2 separate regions of the Homo sapiens genome follow, and region 1 is linked to region 2. Evidence: promoter capture Hi-C in human tissues and cell types (Jung and others, 2019). All regions are on one chromosome and are shown on one strand. Each heading gives the region's core, a stretch centred on a gene start or on the middle of the fragment in contact. The rest is flanking DNA. Distances are from core to core; before and after follow the strand shown. Region 1 overlaps LOC105377700 (a long non-coding RNA gene). Region 2 holds the start of GABRA1 (gamma-aminobutyric acid type A receptor subunit alpha1).

Region 1 (7,266 bases), core at 895-3,394, 1.5 Mb before region 2:
TATTTCAGAATGTATTACTTTAATGTGATTCTCAGGAATATAAAGGAAAATAAAAAATTAAAAATGTTGGATGACTGCCATTTTTCTTCGAGACAGGGTCTCCCTTTGTTGCCCAAGCTGTACTTGAACTCCTGGGCTCAACTGATACCCCTGCCTCACCCTCCCAAGTAGCTGGGACTATAGGTACATGCCACGGTGCCTGGCTCTCCTGTGATGTTTAAATGTAATATCACTTGATGCAATATATTTGTAGTTGTAAATGAAACTTTACTCCTTAAAGTAAGGAGGACACTTGACTCCTTAAAGTTCATATAATTTCCACTGGACACTATTTTGCTGTTAGCTCAAGTGTTCATTTGTTTTAACATATATGGAGGATTAAAGTGTGTCTACAATTATGGAGTTCAAACTGATGTCTAAACTAATATAACTGTGAATACCTTAAATAACAAACACAGTTAAATGCAGCACAATTAGTTAAATAAAATTCCAGTGGCTCAAAAGTATAATGTTGTTGACAGGTCGTTGTCATGGGAATCAGAATTCCTGACATGGATGTTTGACCTGGAGCAGACTACCCAAAGTTTCTTTTTGGTCTCAGCTTCTATATGTAAAATAAAGGTATTGGACGCAAGAACAAACCAAACCAAACCAAAAAAAAAAGAAAAGAAAAAAGGCAATGCGTGAAGAGTCAAATCTCAAAGGAATGGGGCATGCAAAGAGGCAATAGTGAAACCTGAAGTGAAAGGAATGTCAGCCAGATGGATTGGGCAGATTTGGGAGAGTAGAGGGGCTGAAATTTAAAAGATTCCTGAAGCTTTGAACTTTTATTTCTGCTGAGAACACATGCACCTCAATGCCTTTTCCAAATGCTCTCCATACCATCTACCTATACAATACAATTTGGCATTTGCCATTTTGAATGCATAGGTTGGCACATGTACCATGCTCTTTGCATTCTTCAGTGAGCTTCTGCAATTGACAAACAGCTACATTTTGTAACAAAAAGATAACAGAGGCAAGAACAGGACCATAGGCTTCTCCTAGAACCCTTGTTTTTTGAATGATGCAATAACCCTGAACCCAATTTTATTTCTGTGCCTGTTAGTGACTCCCAAGGAGGTTGGAATGGCAACAAAGTCCAGACTTTCCAGGCTGAGGGCCAATTGGTAACTGCCTTCACTGCATCCTGCTTTCTTGCTACCTATTGGAGAAACAATTGAATTTCATGATCAGATTGGCCAATGAATAAGTAGCTATGGACCATATAATTCTGCCAAAACTGTACACTGACCTATGGAAAAAGCTGCTTGGAGTCATAGCGTCAGGGATATCAGATTTATAACTCTTCACTAAAGTTCTGATTTATTTTCTTGGCTAGGTGGGAGGCTAATGCATCTGAAACAGAAAAGTTGAAAAACCTTAGTCTCCTAGGCAGGTACTGGATCCCAACCCTACCTGACATATACTATTACAGATAGTAAAGATTGCTACTCTTGCATTTCCAACATTATCTTCCCTTCCCTACCCCCCAGCACTTGCATAAGAGGGAACATGAACCCTCATAGAACTGAGCAGGAGGATTAGGGCAGATAATAAATCTCGGGCTGATTTGGTTAGCAGGCAGTCACAGGTTAGCAGGGGAAAACCTAGCCTTTTTCTGGTCTCTTCTCTATGGACCAGCAAACAGAGTGAAATGGAAGTGTAGTCTTTTTTGGTGAAAGGTGGTCTAAACTCCTCTACTTGAAATCAGGCTTACTTCCCAATGACTAGCCAAAACTGAGGGTTGAGACTGTTATCTGCATAATTTAGGGACCAGGAAGGAATCTAACTTTACTTATAAAACATAGTGGAATTTTGGGCCTGTGTTGTGAAGACAGTACCTTCAATTTCTGATTATTTGGTCTGGAGAGAATAGACTAAACTCTTCGTTAGAGTAAATGTAGGAATAAAAGATTAAAGTTGTTTTCAGAGGGAATGTATTCCGTCTTTCATTTCTTACATGATGTTTCTTGCTTAATGCATTAGTTTCCTTGGGCTGCCATAGCAAAGTACTGTACACTGAGTGGCTTATGCAACAGACATGTATTGTCTCACAGTTCCGGAGGTTGGAAATCCACGATCACATTTTTGGCAGAGTTGATTCCCTCTGAGACTTGAGAGGGAGACTCTCGCCTGGCTTCTGGTGGTTTGTTGGCAATGTTTGCTGTTCCTTGACTTGTAGAATCATCACATTGCTCTCTGCCTGAATTTTCATGTAGTATTCGCTCTCTGTGTCTTGCTGTCTCAAAATTTCCACTTTTTATAAGAACATCAGTCATACTAGATTAGAGCCTACCCTAATGACCTTATCTTAACTTGATTACCTCTGTAAGGGCCCTTTCTCCAAATAAGGTCACATCCTGCAGTTCAGGGGGTTAAGACTTGAACATATGAATTTTTTAGGAAACAAACGTATAACACTTAAATATATTGTATGGATTCCTGATATTCTTACTGAATATATAATTATAAAACCATAATCCTATAGTCTAAATGCCACTGACTTTATTAAAAGAGTCTAGGTGAATACGTTTTTAAAATATATTTTCCTTTTTCTAACTTGAAACGAGAGAGTCAGAATTTATCAATATCTATCCAGCATTGTGTTGAAACTGGGTTGTAATGCTTTTTCCTATCTGGGAAATAGAACTGGATGGACAGCTGGCTTCAGAGTTTGCATGAAGAGTACATAATCCTACTTATGTAACCCATCGTGTTTGCAAAATCTGCACTGCAGTTTTTTAGGAGGGAATGAGATGTTTGGAAATAAAATCTGCTGTGCAGGAGTGGAAAATTTATCCACTTTCCACATTATTTTTGTTGCCTATATTTTTATTTTGCATTCTCAAGAAGTATGTATCCGTGCTTGAATGTTTTGCCTTTGCTGCACATGTCAGGAATGCAGAATTGGTGAATTCTGGTGCAAGATCTATTCATTGACCTTTACATGATAGGAAAGTTGTTTAACTCCTTCAGGATTATGATTTCTTAAGTTTAGAGTCAATTGGCCTCGACTGGGGTTGAATGGGGAAAGGAGGGCATGAGGAATGAATACTTATGCAGCCCTTAAAAGTGTGAGGGTCCATTGTTCACATGGTAAATCTGCAAACAAAGTCAGTCATTATATCCATGTGCTGGACTTTTTTTTTTTTTTTTTTTTTTAAGACAGATTCTAGCTCTGTTGCCCGGGCTAGAGAGCTGTGGCACAATCATAGCTCACTACAACCTTGAACTTCTGGGATCAAGTGATCCTCCCACCTCAGCCACCCAAGTAGCTAGGACTACAGGTGTGCACCACCATGCCCGGCTAATTTTTAATTTTTTGTAGAGAGGGGTCTTGCTATCTTGAACAGGCTGGTCGTAAACTTCTGGCCTCAAGCAGTCTTCCTGCCCTGGCTTCCCAAAGTGTTGAGATTACAGGCATGAGTCACTGCGCCTGGCCTGTTTGGTTTTATTTTTAATCGGCCCTATAATATTTTCATCCTGATTCTGATTTACAGCACTGTTCCTTTATCGTTAGTAGGAACTGTCATTCCTTCATAACTAGTGATTCTGTTGGGACTGTAGATTATATTAACTCAGTTTTTGGGCACTGGCCAATAATATTACCCTATCAGCTGGTAACAATGATTGGTCTAAGGGAGGGGACATGGACAAGTTAGCCAGTCAGAGGCTTTCCCTGGGATTTTACATACTAATAAGGAGGGATTGGGGGAAAGAAACTTTCTTCCTTCCTTCCTTCCTTCCTTCCTCCCTTCCTTCCTTCCTTCCTTCCTTCCTTCCTTCTCCCTCTCCTCCCTCCCTCCCTCCTTTCTGTCCATCCTTCCTCCCTCCCTCCCTCCCTCCCTCCCTTCCTTCCTTCCCTCCTTCCTTCCTTTCTTTTCTTTTCTTTCTTTCTGTTTTTAGATGGAGTCTCACTCTTGTCGCCCAGGCTGGAGTGCAGTGGTGTGATCTCAGCTCACTGCAACCTCCACCTCCCGGGTTCAAGTGATTCTCCAGCCTCAGCCTCCCAAGTAGCTGGGACTACAGGCACATGCCACTGCATCTAGCTAATTTCTGTATTTTCAGTAGAGACGGGATTTCGCCATGTTGGCCAAGCTTGTCTTGAACTCCTGACCTAGGGTGATCTGCCCAATTCGGCCTCCCAAAGTACTGGAATTACAGGCGTGAGCCACTGCACCTGGCGAAACTTTCACTTTTCTTTTCTTCTTCTTCTTTTTTTTTTTTTTTGAGACGGAGTTTTGCTCTTATTGCCCAGGCTGGAGTGCAGTGGTGCGATCTCGGCTCACTGCAACCTTTGCCTCCTGGGTTCAAGCAATTCTCCTGTCTTAGCCTCCTGAGTAGCTGGGACTACAGGTGCCCACCACCACACCCGGCTAATTTTTGTATTTTTTAGTAGAGATGGGGTTTCACTATATTGATCAGGCTGGTCCCGAACTCCTGACCTCAAGTGATCCTCCCGCCTTGGCCTCCGAAAGTGTTGGGATTATAGGCGTGAGCCACCACGCCCAGCCTGTTTATCCTTTAAGACCAGCTGAGATACCACTATCTTTGTGAACTCTTCTCTAATTTGTTTAGTTAACAATGGGTCTCCACCTGTGTCCTATATAGCCCTGTGTCTTAATGACATCTATTCCATTCTGCCTTCTATTGTGTGTTCCAGTGTTGTGTAATAATTCACCCAAAATTAATGGGTTAAGACAAGTACTATTTTATTATCTCATCATCTTCTTGGTTAAAGGTTTGAATAGAACTTAGCTGGGGGCTTGCTCCTCTTCGCCTGTTGTTTGATGGTCACTCAATGGTATTTAGCTGGTCTGATCTAGAAGGTCCAAGACAGCTTCACTCACCTGCCTTGCTCCTTGGGAGGGTTGCTGTTGCTGGTGTATCCTCTCTGTCCTTTTGGGTTTTGTTCTCTTTCCTTTTGGGTTCATGCCTTAAACAATTTCTATCCTGTTATTTTAGCAAGGTTTCTGGAGGGAGCATGTGTTCAATCTAGTATTTTTACCCGGAAGTCCCCAAAACCTAGTTTATAAAGTACTTTCATATTTAGTTTCTATTTTCTCTTTACAAGAGCCTGGTGAGTATTACGCCTCCATCTTTTAAGACAGAAAAGCTGAAACAGACACGTGTTTTGGCAGTCAAGCCTTTTGATTGCAAGGAAAAAAACTCACTCAAGCCAGTGAACGTATATGTGATATTCTAATTTAAAAAAGTATTCTCATCAGCCCCCAGGCTCACGCTTGTGGTCTTTGAGGGTTGCTGTGGGTGCACCATCTAGATTTTCCTGGTTTTTGGAGTCCAGGTGTTCATTGGGATTCTCAGATAAAATACAAGATTCCCAATTTTATTTGCATTTCAGACATATAACTAATAATTTTTTAGTAAAGATATGTTTCAGCTATTTAATGGAATACTGTACTTGTACTAAAAATCATTGTTTACCTGAAATTCAAATTTAATTGGGCCTCCAGAATATTTATTTGCCAAAGGTAACCGTAGTCTACTTAGGTCAATAAAGGGTTCATGAGTATGAGGAATGATTGAGTTTTATGAGAATAGTTAAGAAAACACCCTTTGGCCTTAGCGACGGACTATTTCTAAACCTGGAATCATTCTTCAGCAAAATCCTAAAGAAAGGGGAATGTTGTTCCCTGTTTTTTTTTTGTTGTTGTTAAAAAAAAAAACCCTTTTTACCTTTCCCTTTATGTCTCACCACATGTAAGCTGATTTAATTTTCAAGCTATCTTTCAGCAACATGTCATTGTCATATACTCAAAATAATAGATGTCATTTTTTGAGATCTTACTTCATGCCAGGCATATTGCTAAATGCTTTAGATGTATTATCTCATCTAATTCTCATATGAACAGTAGGTATCAGTAGCACAATCTTATTTTACAGGTGCATGGGGGGAAGATGCAGTTGATAAAGCTTAAATGAGTTGCCTAAGGCTGGTTACTAAGTGATTGAGGGGACAGTGGAACAGTAGTGCTCTAGTTTTTTCCTGAAAGCAGAGTTTTGTTGAAAAAGAAAGGCTGTGAAATTAGTTCATTGCATTTTTTTAATTATACTTTAAGTTTTAGGGTACATGTGCACAACGTGCAGGTTAGTTACATATGTATACATGTGCCATGTTGGTGTGCTGCACCCAGTAACTCGTCATTTAACATTAGGTATATCTCCTAATGCTATCGCTTCCCACTCCCCCCACCACACAACAGGCCCCAGTGTGTGATGTTCCCCTTCCTGTGTCCATGTGTTCTCATTGTTCAATTCCCACCTATGAGTGAGAACATGCGGTGTTTGGTTTTTTGTCCTTGAGATAGTTTACTATTGCAAACTGGAATGATGGTTTCCAGCTTCATCCACGTCCCTACAAAGGACATGAACTCATCATTTTTTATGGCTGCATAGTATTCCATGGTATATATGTGCCACATTTTCTTAATCCAGTCTATCATTGTTGGACATTTGGGTTGGTTCCAAGTCTTTGCTATTGTGAATAGTGCCTCAATAAACATACATGTGCATGTGTCTTTATAGCAGCATGATTTATAATCCTTTGGGTATATACACAGTAATGGGATTGCTGGATCAAATGGTATTTCTAGTTCTAGATCCCTGAGGAATTGCCACACTGACTTCCACAATGGTTGAACTAGTTTACAGTCCCACCAACAGTGTAAAAGTGTTCCTGTTTCTCCACATCCTCTCCAGCACCTGTTGTTTCCTGACTTTTTAATGATTGCCATTCTAACTGGTGTGAGATGTTATCTCATTGTGGTTTTGATTCGTATTTCTCTGATGGCCAGTGATGATGAGCATTTTTTCATGTGTCTTTTGGGTGCATAAATGTCTTCTTTTGAGAAGTGTCTGTTCATATCCTTCACCCACTTGTTGATGGGGTTGTTTGTTTTTTTCTTGTAAATTTGTTTGAGTTCATTGTAGATTCTGGATATTAGCCCTTTGTCAGATGAGTAGATTGCCAAAATTTTCTCCCATTCTGTAGGTTGCCTGTTTATTCTGATGGTAGTTTCTTTTGCTGTGCAGAAGCTCTTTAGTTTAATTAGATCCCATTTGTCAATTTTGGCTTTGGTTGCCATTGCTTTTGGTGTTTTAGACATGAAGTCCTTGCCCATGCCTATGTCCTGATGGATGGGGTCTTGCTCTGTCACCAAGGCTGGAGAGCAATGGCGTGGTCTTGGCTCACTTCAATCCTTG
Region 2 (7,749 bases), core at 3,817-6,316:
ATTTTATGTGATGATTAGCATGACAACTCCAAAATCCTTTGAGAGAATTGTTTTCTATCTTAGGATGGATCACATTTACTGATATATTTCAATCATAGTTCTGACCTTGAGTACAAAAGCAAAATGAATATAGGGTGTAAACTAAGAAACTGCCACAAATATATCACTTTTGTATTTTCTACTTAATATACTTTGGGCTTCATTCCTGTGTGTTGATGTTACTGATAAATATAAGAAAAATAGTAACATTTGAAGCCAGAATTCACTTATTTGACAGCAGCAAGATATATGATCAAAAAATCATTTCAAAAACAAACACTGTTTTGCAGGTAATTAATTTCGTATCGGCAAAATGCAATGGCTATTATTCTGATAAAGTTTTAATTTGATAAAGTTACTAAAACTAAAGGCTATCCATAATATTGGATATATGTAATGTGTCTCTTTGAAACAATTTTTCATTCTCCTAATTTCAACATTGATGCCATGCAGATTGAGGGCTTACTCTCTTTTGGCAAAATTAAACATCTTGCTGTTTTTTTAAATCAAATTTTCAACAAGCTAAGTGTCTTCCAGTATGTCTCATTGGCAGAAGACAACAGTAAGGCAAAAATAGTTTTGTGAATGCAATTATTTATAAAAACTCATTGTCACAAAATCAACTGCCATTCCTGCATCTTTCAAGGATGCTGGAAGGTCATCTTGATAAAGATGGAAAATAAATGCTAGAACACCCTAAGTTGTGAGGAGGCCCTGATCGGGAACTCTGAGGAAGAAAGCAATACAATAAGAAGAAATAAAAGATGAAATGGGGTAACATGACTAAATAAACTTAAATTATTAAAACAATTCTTAAAATATAGAGTGTTTATTACCTTTATCTACACCCTCTAAGTTTTTACAGCTTATATAAAATTCAGAAAATGCTTTTCTTCCTGGTTTTGTCTTACAAATGTTTTCACCAATTGTTTGCATTGGAATGCAGATGCCCAAAGAGACCACTGCCTTTTCCCCAAGACCAGTTCTGCTTTCCCAGCTGGAATGGAAATCTTTATTTTACGTGATTTTTTAATGACATTTCATCTTTACTTCTAACTTACTATGTCAAGTTTTAATTGCCAGAAAAAAACCCTACGAATAAGATGCTTATTCATTTTGTATTAAACACTCATCCCAATGTAGTGTTTCCTAAACTGAATATATATTTTGAAGAGAAATGCCAGTTACATTACCTGATTTTGATTCCATATGAACCACTATATAATAAAACACTGTGCACTAACTCCATCTACAGGTCATTGCAATAGTAACACTTCATATAATTTTTCAAAAGCAGTAAAGACATTTAACTTCTCTCATTAAGGATATCTGATAATAATGCCTGTCTGTCAGTGTTTACCATACACAATAGCAAAAAACAACAACAGAAAACTTCTGAATTAAAATAAATCTTCCTAAATTCATATGTCTTTCCAGACTATTCCATCTCCCTATCTTAACTCTTAAGAGTTCCCTTGCCATTACATTTTGAATAAACTCATGTTTTTATTATATGTCTGACCTTCTTATGGGTCACAGGAATAGGCTACACAAGAAATACAAAAGCAGATAAAGAAAAATCTGTAATACTTAGTCATGTAAATAGTTTCTATTATATTAATTTCACATGCTTGATTGGATCATTAGAACATATTTTGACTATGATTAAGCTTTATAAACAATTAGTAATTGTTTTTTTAATAGGGAAATTTGATTTTACCAAAGTTCTTAAATATTTGTCTCATATAGTCCACTTTTATTAGTTATATAGATAACAATTTCAAAACGTGATATGCATATGCATTTAGAGAGACGTGATTTTCAAATAACAGATATTATTTAAAACTTTCCATTTCTATAAACACAAAAGTTACTCTATGATCTTTACAATAGGCTAGAAATTTTCTTGTTGTTAAATCAGGTTACACAGTATGCAACCACTAATTGGGGTAACTTTTTCTATGAATTAGGAAACCGCACGTTTTGTTCAGTTCCAACTGAACAGTGAGAAGTTCAATCTAAGACTTAAATGTTGAATTAATACATGTCTTAACAATGGCTTGTTAATTGTATTCTAACTAACGTGCAAACATAATGATTTGTTTCATACTGCTCCTCTTTATTCTTAGCTGGAAATTATTGCAGTTAAGTTTTCTGAATTCCCTTAGTCATAAATTCATTTGAGGACAATTTTCTTCCCCCGATAAAATAAATGAAAAGTTACAGAAATTTTCATGCAGATTTTTAAAAAAGTGTCCCCACCTTCTTCCAGTCAGTGTGCTCAGAAGGAGGATCCAGGCCCAAAGACAGTCAGACAGACCTGGACTTTTCCTCATCGCGGGCTGGAGCAGCTGAAAAGTAGAATAAGTAGAGATCAATGTCTCTAGCAAGAAACATCAGGTTATAACCACCAGGGCTGACTGAGGCAGTTTAGATGAATGCTTTGAAGTCAGGAAATGACCTCACTGGGATATGACACCTCATTGGAAGCAATGGAAACCTGGACCATCCATTCTCCACTTTCCCTTCCATTTCTCCATTCAGAAATATATCAGTGTCCTTATTCTCCTGTAAAAGAATACAAGCTGAAACGCTTTCAGGTGACAGTATTGCTCAACATAAAAACTGTGAGTTGTTTATCTCTAGGTTTTATATTTAGAATATAGTTTGGTTTATTCTCTTCTTGTTGTTTATCATCTAAATATTTGGACTTTTAAGATTTCAGTTTCCACAGTGAACTGTGCATTAAAATTTTTAAGCTGGTGTCTCTAACAGGAAGAACATATTTAGGGATTGGAGGGGATAGGTTAACATGTTGTGATGGCTGAATTCCTCTTTGAATTCTGCAGGTACCTTGATTTCAGAAGCAACTGTATTTATTTCTATTTAAAAACATAGGAAACACACTGTTGAATGCCGGAGTCGTGCTTTTATTCTGTTCCTGTGACTGCTTTGTTAAACATGCTTCCTAATGTTTCTGTGAAGCTAAAGGACACACTTTATAGTCAAGCCATGTGCTGATCTCTCTCACATACAAACCACACACACACACACACACACACACAAATGCACACAAACATGCCCACACATATCTTTCAAGCCCTCTCAAATTCTGCCAGGTTGCTGCTAGAAAATGTTTCATCTCAAACAGATGGAAGCTGGAGTGCTTTGCTTTGCATGAATAAAGGGATCTTTTTACCTCTTAGGTAAAGTGCAATCAATCACCATCTGATTGTTGAATTTAGACTTGGTAGTGGAATGTTGGAGAACTGGAAGAGTACAGAAAGCTTAGAGAATTAAAAATGTATATAGTCTATGTGTGGAGTCAGTTTTCGAAATTCAATGCACTACCTGGATAAGGAGCAGCTATGGTAACATTTTAATGTGCTGTAATTAATTCCAGTCATAATATAAGGAATGTTCAAAGTATTTAATCTATATTTCTTTGTAGGGTAAGTGATTAATAGACTGCAATCTTTTAAAGCTTCTTTTTCATTAAACCCTCTATAGTTTAATGTGGTATGCCTTTAAATACATCTACAAAATGCTTTCTGCAGTCTCGGGAAATCATTTAAATCACTAAAAACCATTACAAACAGGCTTGTAAGCAATGAAACATAATATGTTTAGAGCGAAATGGTCTAGAGATAAGAACTCTGAGCCTCGTCATAGCTTTTCCTTAATTTAGTAATTTAGTGACTGGTTTTGAAACAGATTAGTTGACTATGACAAGAAATCTTGGATAAATATTATGTTAAAATGCTACATCTAAATTGCAAAATTTTAATTTACCCTTTTACTAATCTTCATCGTTTGTTACAAGGGAAAAACAACTTTTCTTAGCCCTATTAATTTTTGTTGATCTTTTTAAAAAGATTGAATATCTGAATGGGTAAACAAAACACAGCAAAACCATTTGACAAGGCACCATAGATTTTTGCCCTCTTCTGACATTTTTAAAAGAGAAAAACAAACCTATCATGGCACTTCAGTTGTTAAGAAAGTTTCTTGCAAATACAAACATAATAGTTTAAAAGAAAGGCTAAGCTGCAGTCTTACCACTTTCTACCTTCAACCTCCCCCTCCCCCAGACACACGCTCCAAACGTTACCATCCCATGCCATCCATATCAAAGACTAAGTTGAGTTTTCGTGTTCAGAATGGGAGAGACCCCTACACAAGAGGGCATTTCACCAGCGTCCACTGGAAAGGGAAAAACAGGCAATTTTGCAGCCAGGACAAGAGCGTGCCTTCCCTAGGATGATGGAACAGTGAGACAGGTTTTCCGTCCCAGCGTCTTAACTTTAGATGATGGCCCCCGACGCCCCTCCCCAACTCACCCCAGCTCCCCCTTGCAAATAAATAAATAAATAAAAGACCAAAACAACATGCCACCACCCACCCTGCGGAATACATTCAAATATGCCTAAGAAAGAGGAGAAGAAAAGAAGAAAGACAGCGGGAAAAAAATAATAATAATGCTCTTATATTGCTGCGGTTTCACCCTGAAAGAAAAACATTTCGTTGTTTCTACCTGCTGTGGGATCAGGCTCCTGTCCTGCTCGCTCCCTTGCTCGCTCGCTCGCTCTCCTTCTTCTCTCTCTCTCTCTCTCCCCCCGTCTCCCCCCGCCCCCCCCCCCCGACTATAACATTCCTGTCTCTCCAGCTAGGAAAAGCCACGTTCAAAGCTCTGTCTGTGTATCGTGGTCCAAAGTCGCACTTACCTAAGGCCCCCTCTGGACACAGGATCTCTTAAGACCGGGGAAAAGTCTGGGAGAGAGAATCGTGGAGAGACTGGAGCCAGCGCGAGTCTGCGAGTCCGAGTCCGGGCGCGCCAGAGCAGAGGGGCGTCCTCGCTCTGCCTCTCACTCACTTGGTCTGAGCCATCATGGACTCTGCGTGCTCCTTTGCTGAAGATTTCACACCCAAATTTGCTTCCCAATATCCAATCTGCAGCTATACAACAAAAGATTTCTCTTTACCAAGACAGTAGTAATACGTCCCAGGGCAAACCGGATGTGAAATAGGCGGTGACTTCATGCCAGAGAGATTTTATTTTAGAAAGGAAGGTGGTACCAGCCTCTGGATCTGGAGACCAATCCGCCCATTTTTTATATGCAGCACAATTTAACTTGCACCACTCTGGCCCTAATCCCCTTCTCTCTAGCTGCAGGCTCAAATCCTTCTACAATCTGCTGCAAGCTTCTCTTTTTGGGGGGAGCGGCAATGGGGGAGGGAAGGGTAGAAAGGGTGAGAGACATACGGACTGCACTTAGAGTCTTTTCACACTTGCAATTTATGAACACCCGATTTTAAGGTGAGCCCATTAAAAATACAACTATTTAGTGCAACTATTCTACCTTTGATCAAATATTAAACCACTGCCTGCATATGAATGAACGCAAGCTCTGAAACTGGGAGATGCAGGGTTACACGTGTGGGGAGAGCACTCGTCTCGCCTCTCTCCCTCACACACACACTCCCACACATATGTCTAAGTCCCCGTGTCTTGCAGAGTCACGAATGGTGACGGATGGTAGGAAAGAGTTCTGGCAGGTAGGAAATTGGCTACTGGATTTAGAGAGTCTTTCGCACTTTCTCAGGTTGGGAGCGCTTTCCACCCCACCTTCTTCTGTAGCTTAGAGGACAGCAAGAATACCCTCCGGAACCGGGTTTTTACCTTTGGAGGCAACTGTTTGTCTATGTTATCATGGAGAAAACGCAGGCGCTGTTACCTCTGAATTGTGCTGGGTTCCTGGACGAAGAATATTTAACTAATAAATCACTCCGATCATTTCTAGGTTTGAGAATCATATCTCCATTTCCGGAATCATTCCTTTGCCTCGAGCTCCATCATTCTCGGATTAGGAAAATGGGAGAGGGAGAGGAGGAATTTTTAGAAGTCAGGACGAAATCCGCATCTACTTTTCCCCCCCCTTCTCCGGCATCTTCTGTTACCCTCCCTGGTAGCTCTCCACCCACAAATAATTATACACTAGGAAAGGGGGGTGTGTTTCAACATCAGTCTAACTAAATTTCCAAGGAATCAGGGATGACTTGGTTTCCTCCTCGGATTTTGTGAATGGCTGTTTGTAGCAGAGAGGGGATGGGTGCTGTCTTCCTGGGAGCGCTTACTAAGACCTAAAACACTGGGAGCTGTCCCTTCAGCACTTCCGTCCTGTTATGGCAGGAGGTGCTGAAAAGGTGAGGTGCCCCATACAATGTTTCTGGTGGATAAGGTCTGAGCTTTGGTAAGCTCACTGGTCATTTTCTCCTAGTGAGTTCCTAGCAGAGAAGACGTTTCAGATGGGGCGGAGCCTGAGCAAGTGAAGAAAAAAATCTGAGTAGCCAGTCCATAACCACTTTGGGGTTTCTGATTCTACAAGTGCTTCTTGACCTTGTGCAGCAATGCAATCAGCTTAATGATTAAAACTTAAATAAGGTGATTGCAATAATAAGGAATATAAAACTGAAGACCACATTAGGGGTTGGGCTTGGTTACCTTCTGAGTTTTGTGGTCAAGTGTCAACTGGGAAGTGATTTTAGAGATAAACTTTTGGAAGAGAGATTTGAAGATTATGTTAAGATAGCCCTGTTTCTGGGCAGTAGTTAATTGCCTGTTATGTTCAGATATAATAAATGCCAATGTATTCTTAAAGATATTCGCTGAAGAAACATCACAGCTTCCCTATGTGTCATTACCCAATTTTTATTTACTTATCCATTGATTAATTAATTTATTGAGTGGTTTGGAGAATAAAACTGAATTTAATGAGATTTATAATTAATAATGAAATCCTGAGTTAACGATTAGAAAACATTATTCTTTTACTTCATCTACAATGCAATTCCACAGTTTTGTCTTGTTTTAATGAAAGTCAACAGTTATAAAAATCTGAATTTTTAGTGTTCTCCTGGCTAAACTGTTGCAGGTCCTTTTATGATCTTCTACAAATTGAAAATAAATTTATATCCTTTATCTAATGAAACACAACTAAATCACTCTACTGATTTTGGTTTTGCAAACAAATTCACTGAAGCTTCATCATGTGAACAATAGTCTCAGAGCAATGCCAATTACATTCTGCTTCAGATTAAAAAATGTTATGTGACTATGAAACAGGATACAATTGCACAGCGTTTTCAAACATTTAAAGAAATAAATATTAAATAATTTGGGGGCTATAGTGTGTATATGGAAATGGAAATACCTATACTATGATTCTCTCTTTAAAATGTAATACTCACAAGGTAGATTTTACTAGATGATTCTCTATGAATATCAGCTTGTAATATGTATATGCATGTATGTATACATACACACATACATGTAATTTGCTTTAAGACATCTATATTTTTCATAAATTGTGAGTGTTTAAAAATAATGATATTTTAATACTCCAAAACATCAATTGATACTCTAATTATGGGTGTGTTTATTGTGTTCCATCTGATATGTCATTAATATATGCACATACTACCATAAAATATAATAAATTAATGACAAGAAAATACTTTATATTGTGTTTTTATATTCAATATTTTATATAATTTTTGATATTCTTGTGTTTTGTTTTAGCCAGAATGAACCACTTCAAACTATGTGTGCATATAATGATGTCAGTTTTTTTAAATGATAATAACTATGGTGTTTAATATTCTTAGAGTGTTTACTTGGTGCCAAGTAATGTGAAAAGTAATTTTCATAAT

What was found. The method cuts DNA at HindIII sites, captures the fragments that hold promoters and counts their contacts. A contact is called where the count stands out against the background at its distance.
Region 1: a contact is called between a fragment that was not itself captured here and the fragment with the promoter of GABRA1 in region 2, in 1 of the 25 tissues and cell types used here (dorsolateral prefrontal cortex).

Annotation. Positions count from the first base shown.
Region 1 is chr5:163,380,345-163,387,610 of GRCh38, reverse strand. The region is part of intron 1 of LOC105377700 (a long non-coding RNA gene); the gene reads left to right. Among named protein-coding and RNA genes, the nearest start is that of CCNG1, 54 kb to the left of the region's middle. The HindIII fragment of the contact is 5,828 bases long and covers 1-5,058 here.
Region 2 is chr5:161,845,437-161,853,185 of GRCh38, reverse strand. It overlaps GABRA1 (gamma-aminobutyric acid type A receptor subunit alpha1), which reads right to left and starts at 5,066. Exons shown (of 10, transcript NM_001127644.2): 1 at 4,764-5,066; 2 at 2,302-2,390. The coding sequence starts at 2,375. It overlaps LOC105377696 (a long non-coding RNA gene), which reads left to right and starts at 2,593. Exons shown (of 3, transcript XR_941158.4): 1 at 2,593-2,666. The HindIII fragment of the contact is 3,679 bases long and covers 4,383-7,749 here.